Linked DNA regions of Homo sapiens: region 1 is linked to region 2. Evidence: promoter capture Hi-C in human tissues and cell types (Jung and others, 2019). All regions are on one chromosome and are shown on one strand. The core of a region is centred on a gene start or on the middle of the fragment in contact, and the rest is flanking DNA. Distances in the headings are between cores, read along the strand shown.

Region 1 (4,161 bases), core at 261-2,760, 560 kb before region 2:
TTTTTTTTTTTTTGAGACGGAGTCTCGCTCTGTCGCCCAGGCTGGAGTGCAGTGGCGCATCTCCGCTCATTGCAAGCTCACGCCATTCTCCTGCCTCAGCCTCCCAAGTAGATGGGACTACAGGTGCTTGCCACCATGCCTGGCTAATTTTTTTGTATTTTTAGTAGAGACGGGGTTTCACCATGTTAGCCGGGATGGTCTCGATCTCCTGACCTCGTGATCCACCCGCCTCGGCCTCCCACAGTGCTGGGATTACAGGCGTGAGCCACCAAGCCTGGCCAGAGTGCTGCACATCTTAACCACAGGTGGAAAGCCATGAACCTCTATGTGGCTGGGAAGGACTCACAAAGCCACGCACATCAAAGCCACCCTCTCCTTCCCTGAAGCAAGTAACACATTCCTTGGTGAGAAACTTAACTCATCCCAAATCTGGGGTTCAGACTGCTTACAAAAGGGACACATTAAAAAAAAACAAAACAAAAAAAAACCTAAAGTCACTACTATCTCAGACTTAACTCATCATAATCATCTCACCACAATATGCTGGGTCACCTACACTCTTTCTTCAACAAACATTTACTGAGTGCCTACTATGGCCACAGCAGCTGCAAAGAACACTTCCAATGCCAGCTTAGGCTGGAAGCACTTGCTACAGCCACTGATGAATCCTTAGGAGAACTTAACCCTGGACTTCCAAGGCTCGGCTGTCCAACAGGGCAGTCCTAGCTACAGATGGTTATTGTGTGCTGAGAAACTGAATTTTTCGGTTTAATTAAATATCCGTAAGTGAGTAGTGGCTATGATACTGGATGGGACAGTGGCTACTAGGAAACAATGTTCTGAGGTTTAAGTTACCAGAATATGAAAAAATCAAGGTGAAAGTGCTTTAGTTATAAGACAAGTATCTGCATAAACAGTAAACTGCATATCTAGGTCAGGGAATAACTAGGTTGGCAGCCACAGCAATAGACTCCCACTAGAAGTCTAGAAGATGCCCAGCATTTTAGAACAAATGGAATTTTCCTGGCTTGTTTCCTAGAGTTCCTGTGTACAAATCTGGAAACATCTGAAAAGCCAGCAGCTTTATGATAATTCCTTTAAATAAGTATTTGTGTCTGAGCACGGTGGCTCACACCTGTAATCCCAGCACTTTGGGAGGCCAAGGCGGGTGGATCACCTGAGGTCAGGAATTTGATAACAGCCTGGCCAACATGGTGAAACCCCGTCTCTACTAAAAATACAAAATTAGCCGGGTGTGGTGGCAGGTGCCTGTAATCCCAGCTACTCGGGAGGCTGAAGCAGGAGAATCGCTTGAACCTGGGAGGTGGAAGTTGCAGTGAGCCAAGACTGCACTCCAGCCTGCGCAAAAAAGAGTGAAACTCCATCTCAAAAAAGCAAAACAAAACAAAAAAACACAAGTATTTGCTTTAGTTCCCATCACTCCTGTTAGAGAAAGAACTTGTCAGCACCTTACATGTAGTAAAATGTACATATTCGAATCCTAGGTCAACAAAACACTTGTTCTGACCCCAAATTCACCCTCATGTAAATGTTACCACCTCAGCAAATGCTACTACATGCCCAATTCTCATTCTTTTTGAGAAAATGTCCAAAACTGGAAAGACAGCAACAAATCCCAAATACCAGTGAATGGACACGTGTTCTCTGTCCCACTTCAAAGTAACAGCAGACCAACTACCAAGAAGTACCCCCACACTCACCTGCTGGGCTATGAGATCCAGCCGGCTTTCCAGGGTGTTGGAAACCTTTATTTTACGATCTCCATTATAGATCTCAACTCCACCAGCTCTGCAAAAAAAAAAGCACAGGAAATAATCATTTTCAAAGACTTGAGAAAGATACATGGTACCCTTTACTCCCGCAGAGGAATGCCCTTGTCTTGGTGTGTAGACTGCGCAACCTAAGCAACAGGCTTGAAAGGAACTGAAAAAGCTTCTGAAGATGTAACGCACAGTTGGTTTCAGGAAACCCCAGTCCCCGCCTAGATGTCCATTATATGAAACAGCGTAGTATTTGCATACAACCATCACACATCCTCCCCTATATTGCAAATCATGTCTACAGCACTTAAAATAGCTAATACGATGTAAATGGTTGTTATACCGTAGTGTTTAGGGAGTGAAAAGAAAAAGTTGGTTGAATTCACAGGTGTGGACCCCAAAGATACAGAGAACTGACTGTATTCATCTCAATAACTGTCATTTACCAAGTGACACTATGTGTCAATTTGTTTTGTTTTTTTTGAGACTCGCTCTGTTGCCCAGGCAGGAGTGCAATGGTGCGATCTTGGCTCACTGCAACCTCTGCCTCCCGAGTTCAAGCAATTCTCCTGCGTCAGCCTCCCCAGTAGCTGGGATTACAGGCACCTGCCATCACGCCTGGCTAATTTTTGTATTGTTGTAGAGACGGGGTTTCACCATGTTGGCCAGGCTGGTCTTGAACTCCTGACCTCAGGTGATCCGCCCACCTCTGCCTCCACAAGTGTTGGGATTACAGGAGTGAGTCACCGCGCCCAGCCTGTGTCAATTTGATTTTATGTTACAAAACCTGTTTTAATTATCACAGCCAGCCCTCCCCAACAAAATGAAAAAGAGAGGATTTCATCTCAGTTTGCAAATCACTCAATCCTCATCTGAATGTTTTCTTAAGCCCAATCCTGCTCATTACTGATGAGGCCCTATCACGACTGCATGTGTGTCTGATAAAAGATGCCACTGCTGGCCGGGCGTGGTAGCTCACCCCTGTAATCCCAGCACTTTGGGAGGCCGAGGTGCTCCCAAACTCAAGTTTGAGGCCAGCCTGGCCAACATGGCGAAAGCCTGTCTCCACTAAAAATACAAAAATTAGCTGGGCATGGTGGGGCGTGCCTGTAGTCCCAGCTACTTGAGAGACTGAGGCAGGAGAATTGCTTGAACCCAGGAGGCAGAGGTTGCAGCAAGCCGAGATCACACCACTGCACTCCAGCTTGGGTGACAGAAAGAGACCCTTACTCAAAATACAACAACAACAACAAAAAAAGAGGCTGGGTGCGGTGGCTCACGCCTGTAATCCCAGCTCTTTGAGAGGCCGAGGTGGGCAGATCACGACATCAGGAGATTGAGACAATCCTGGCTAACAAGGTGAAACCCCGTCTCTACTAAAAATACAAAAAAAATTAGCGAGGCATGGTGGCGGGTGCCTGTAGTCCCAGCTAATCGGGAGGCTAAGGCAGGAGAATGGTGTGAACCTGGGAGGTGGAGCTTGCAGTGAGCCGAGGTCGTGCCACTGCACTCCAGCCTGGGTGAGAGTGAGACTCTGTCTCAAAAAATAAATAAATAAATAAATAAGATAAAAAATGCTATGAGGTTAGTGCTAATACGTCAATTTACAGATAAGGGAATCAGGGCTCACTACTATGGTTTGAGTCTGTTCCCTCAGAAACTAATGGTGAAATTTGATTCTCAATGTGGCAGTGTTGGGAGGTGGAGCATAGTAGGAGGTGTTCAGGGCTCAAGGGCAGATCCCGAGGCAATGAACTGTGGCGAGGGCCTGGATTCTAGCTCCGGCAGGACTCGACTGTGAGCAGAGGGTGGGCTGGTATGATAGGGAGTCTGGTTCCCTAGGCTCTCTGGCCTCCTCTCTCGCCATGTGGTCTCTATGCACACACCCACTCCCCTTCCACCTTCTGCCATGAGTGGAAGCAGCCTGAGGCCCTCACCAGATGCAGCTGTCCAATCTTGAACTTTCCAGCCATGAGAATCATGAACCAAATAAACCTCTTTTCTCCATGAATTACCCAGCCTCGGGTATTCTGTTATAGCAACACTAAATGGACGACACCACTCAATGAAACTGAATAAACGAGTCCAAGATTACCCAGGTAGTAAGTGGCAGAATCAGGAATCTAACCCAACTCTGACAGCATATCTTATGAGTTTATATACTTTTTCCATTTACAGAGCATTTTCACATGTACTATCTCATCTTTTTTTCTTCACTGCATGAAACAAAAAAGCAAAAAGCAATGATCCTATTTTACATATGATGAATTCAGTCTCCAGGTCCCATAGTAGCAAAAGGCCAAGATAGGACTCAAATCTAGGTCTTACATTCCTAAGTGTGATAATCAGCTAACTTCAAAATGTGTCCAAGGCACCAGGC
Region 2 (4,750 bases), core at 1,145-3,644:
GGCTCATTCTCCCTTTCCTTATTTGTAACTCCTATCTCTGAGAGTTTCAACTCTGGCTCCAATTATCCTTAATACATTCAGTTACCTGGTCATCCCCCTGTATGTAACTAATCTGTCATCTCCACCAGCACCCTGCCCTCCCTGGACACCACACACTGGGCCACTCCAATACCGGGATGTGCCACATCTTCAAATTGCTTGGGCTGTGACCCTGGGCCGGGCTGCACCAGCACCCATTTGTGTCTGACATTGTGCTGGGCAGCCCCACTGTGCTGCCACCCTCCTCAACCTGCTCCAGTCCAGCACCCTGCTTGGGCCACTGTGGAACATACTACACAAACGCCCACTTTGCTTGACACACCTGATGGCCTTAGCACGGAATTGTTCAGGAGGGTACCATGAAGGACGGAAGGAAGAGCCCCATAGAAGTGTAATGGATCCTTACATTATATAGTCCAGCCTCCAACCCAAGGTTCACCCTTGTCCATTCTGCACTGGGGCAGCAACACCAATTACTTTGCTCCACCGACCTACCAAGATTCAGATAGAATCATTGGATTGACTATTAATAGTTTTCTGCTGATAGTTGCTGCAAGCAACTGCAGCTTGCTCCTTAGCCTTCTACTGACTTGCTGTATTTAGCATATTTTATCAAATTTTGCAACCTCCTCTCCTCATTGCCCTCACTTGAGTTTTTGAGGTTCCTGTTTGTGGACAAGACTTACCAGATGTATGAAGCTGGTTATATAACTGATTGGTCAGCAAATATAATGAGGACGGACCCTGCGCCCACCACCGTGTACCTGTGTAAACACCATACTGCGCAAAGTCCACCAGCCTTCCAGGGAGAACATGCTGCACTGTGGGCGACACTGCCTCCGTTCCAGCAGCAATGTAAGCGGAGTCTGGGCTGACGATGGACGTGTGGATAGCCTGTATGTGTATATCTGTGCTCATGCTTCTAACACACATCCACCCTATTATGGACACGTTTATACATCTTCATGCCATGGTATTTTGTACCTTACTGCAGACCCTACCAACGCTTCAGTGAGGTTCTGGCAGCTTTGGGTTTTTGGAGGCTATTTGTCTGTTGCTGCGGGGACGGCTTTCAGAAAGAATGATCGCTTTGGGGGAATTGTACCCTGCTTTCCTGCGCAAATTCCAGCGGCTGGAGTTTGAGGCCCCTAGCAGATAACCCTTCTGCCCCTACCCCCATGAGTCTACATACAAGAAATACATCTCTAAAGAGGTAATAAGCCTTTCCGGTGTGCATGTTACAGATCTCTTAACCTTATATATACACAGATGGTCCATCACTTACCGTGGTTTCACTTACGATGTTTCGACTTCATGATGGGTTCACTGGGACTTGACCCCATTTTTTTTTTTTTTTTTTAGACGGAGTCTTGCTCTTGTCGATCTCTGCTCACTGCAACCTCCGCTTCTTGGGTTCAAGTTATTCTCCTGCCTCAGCCTCTTAAGTAGCTGGGATTAAGCGCCACCACGCCGAGCTAATTTTTGTACTTTTAGTAGAGATGGGGTTTCACTATGTTGGTCAGGCTGGTCTCGAACTCCTGACCTCAGGTGATCCGCCTGCCTCAGCATCCCAAAGTGCTGGGATTACAGGTGTGAGCCACCGCGCCCCCTGACCCCTTCTTAAGTGGAGAAATATCTGTATCTGCATGCCCACAGGGGAGCTCCTAATTACACCATGTGCCGCATCCAAGCCACAGGCCGGTGATGTGAAGACACCCGATCCAAGAAATACAATAGCATTAAGAAAGAAAAAATGCTGCCATGGATACTACCAAACGCCAAATGACTCTAACACGTAGGCTAATTGCAAGGACCTTAAAATCGCAAATAAAAAGGCGCCTGTAGGTCGGGCGCGGTGGCCCACACCTGTAATCCCAGCACTTTAGGAGGCGGGCGGATCACCTGAGACCAGCCTGGCCAGCATGGCGGAACCCCATCGCTACTAAAATACAAAAATTAGCCAGGAGTGGTGGCGCATGCCTGTAATCCCAGCTACTCCGGAGCCTGAGGCAGGAGAATCGCTTGAACCCAGGAGGCGGAGTTTGCAGTGAACCGAGACAGCGCAACCGCACTCCAGCCTGGACGACAGAATGAGACTCCGTCTCAAAAAAAAAAAAAAAAAAAAAAAGCGAGGGCTGGAAGTCTGGAGCAGGTGCGCGGCTGCAACGGCAGCCGCGGGAAGCTCGGGCCGGCAGGGTTTCCCCGCACGCTGGCGCCCAGCTCCCGGCGCGGAGGCCGCTGTAAGTTTCGCTTTCCATTCAGTGGAAAACGAAAGCTGGGCGGGGTGCCACGAGCGCGGGGCCAGACCAAGGCGGGCCCGGAGCGGAACTTCGGTCCCAGCTCGGTCCCCGGCTCAGTCCCGACGTGGAACTCAGCAGCGGAGGCTGGACGCTTGCATGGCGCTTGAGGCAAGTTCGGGGCTCATTTTGGAAGTTTTCTTTCTAGCACAGACATCCAACTCTGCTCCTATGCCAGTCAGATAATTAAGGAATTAAGTAATAATTGTGCTCTGCAAATTATGATAGTGATCTGTATTTACTACGTGCATATATTTTGGGCCAGTGAATTTTTTTCTAAGCTAATATAGTTATTTGGACTTTTGACATGACTTTGTGTTTAATTAAAACAAAAAAAGAAATTGCAGAAGTGTTGTAAGCTTGTAAAAAAATTCAAACAATGCAGACAAATGTGTCTCGCAGTCTTCCACTCAGTATCATTTTTGTTTGTACCTTATCAGAAATGTTTCTATGTACAAGTCTTTAAAATCATTTCGAACTTGCTTTGTCCACTGAGTATATTATGGACATCTTTTCATGGCAGGACATATAGATGTGTTAATGGCATTAAAAATAAAACAAAAAACTGATTCGGCCGGGTACGGTGGCTCACGCCTGTAATCCCAGCACTTTGGGAGATCGAGGAGGGAGGATCACCTGAGGTCAGGAGTTACAGACATGGAGAAACCCCGTCTCTACTAAAAATACAAAATTAGCCTGGCGTGGTGGCGCATGCCTGTAATCCCAGCTACTCGGGAGGCTGAGGCAGGAGAATCGCTTGAACCCGGGAGCGGAGGTTGCGGTGAGCCGAGATCGCACCGTTGCACTCCAGCCTGGGCGACAGAGCGAAACTGTCTCAAACAAACAAACAAAAAAACCTGATACATGGTATGGGAAGTACATTGTTTAAACAATGCATGGAGATTTAGGTTGTTTCCAGTTTTTACTGGCACAGATACGGCAATGAATATAATTTTATGTATACATTCATACAAATATATCGGTGGAAAATTCCTAGAAGTGGAATGGCTGGGTCAGTGGGCATTCATATTGAGAAATTGGAAGGATGTTGTCAAACTCTGCAAATCAGAGTATTTTAGTCTTAACCTCTCTTCTTCACACCCTTTTCCTTGGAAGAAAGCTAAATTTAGACTTTTAAACACAAAACTCCATTTTGAGACCCCTGAAAATCTGGGTTCAAAGTGTTTGAAAATTAAAGCAGAGGCTTTAATTTGTACTTATTTAGGTATAATTTGTACTTTAAAGTTGTTCCAGAAAACAAGGCAAATACTGAAAAGCATTTCATCTGAAGTTTCTTTCTGGTATTGAACAGAGTTGGATGGAGAGTGAATGCAGGTTACCGATGTGTTCGCAGGAACAAAACGGGAGGGAGAGTAACACAGGTGCACGGCTTCATATTGATTTATCAAAGAACTTGCTTTTGGACTGTTAAAAAATGTGTTGCACAGTTCTGACACTTTTACACAATGATGAGCTTACAAAGGGGAAAATGCTTAACATAAACATAGTTTCAAAGAAGGTAAGTCCTAGTTTTTCCACGAGCTGTTTTTTTTTTTGAGAGAGAGTAGTCCCAAAATTTCCCTATTATGTGGTTTTTCATCCAAAGTGTTGTAATCCGTGTGTTCTAACCCGCATATTACGATTACTCAAGAAATGCAAAATAGGCCGGGCGCGGTGGCTCACGCCTGTAATCCCAGCAATTTGGGAGGCCGAGGCAGGTGGATCACGAGGTCAGGAGATCAAGACCATCCTAGCTAACACGGTGCAAACCCATCTACTAAAAATAAAAAATATTAGCTGGGCGTGGCGGCAGGCGCCTGTAGTCCCAACTACTCGGGAGGCTGAGGCAGGAGAATGGCGTGAACCTGGGAGGCGGAGCTTGCAGTGAGCCAAGATCCGGCCACTGCACTCCAGCCTGGGCGACAGAGGGAGACTCCGTCTCAAAAATAAAAATAAAAATAAAAAAAGAAAAAAGAAATGCAAAATAATGTGAACACGTCATCGAGACTGCGGTCTACAATTGTGGTTGCCATGATGGGGTGGGTCGGAAGACACCGAGGCTGCTTGAATCATGTTCCTGGCAGGTTAATTTTGTTCCTTTTAGGGCATCTAAATGTTGGAGTTGGCTTTCCTGGCAGAGAGTCCAGTTGTGAGTGGAGTATTGGGTGGAGGCCCCACCCTCCCCAGGTTTTCTGCAGCTTGTTCCTGGCTCTTCTGGGGCTTCTCTGAGGACCCCGATTGGTCCTGGGGCTTCTTTAGTGGTGGGCCTGGGCCAGTTCCTTCCGTTGCTCACCTCTCCCCGAAGCTTAAGGATAACATTTCGGGAAGATCATGAGAGAACGTGAACCAAAAAAAAAAAAAAAAATTCAGGTAGGGTGGGAGCTAAGTTAGTTTAGTATTTGGGATTTTTGTTT

What was found. Contacts are between HindIII fragments. The study calls those that stand out against the background at their distance.
Region 1: a fragment that was not itself captured here is called in contact with the fragment with the promoter of USP18 in region 2 in 1 of the 25 tissues and cell types used here (lymphoblastoid cells).

Annotation. Positions count from the first base shown.
Region 1 is chr22:17,592,808-17,596,968 of GRCh38, forward strand. It overlaps ATP6V1E1 (ATPase H+ transporting V1 subunit E1), which reads right to left. Exons shown (of 9, transcript NM_001696.4): 8 at 1,722-1,809. Among named protein-coding and RNA genes, the nearest start is that of SLC25A18, 31 kb to the left of the region's middle. The HindIII fragment of the contact is 3,516 bases long and covers 1-3,268 here.
Region 2 is chr22:18,147,776-18,152,525 of GRCh38, forward strand. USP18 (ubiquitin specific peptidase 18) reads left to right here and starts at 2,395. Exons shown (of 11, transcript NM_017414.4): 1 at 2,395-2,447. It overlaps LOC124905076 (a long non-coding RNA gene), which reads right to left and starts at 1,439. Exons shown (of 2, transcript XR_007067999.1): 1 at 1,325-1,439. RefSeq lists an enhancer at 2,136-2,455. The HindIII fragment of the contact is 12,042 bases long and covers 1-3,668 here.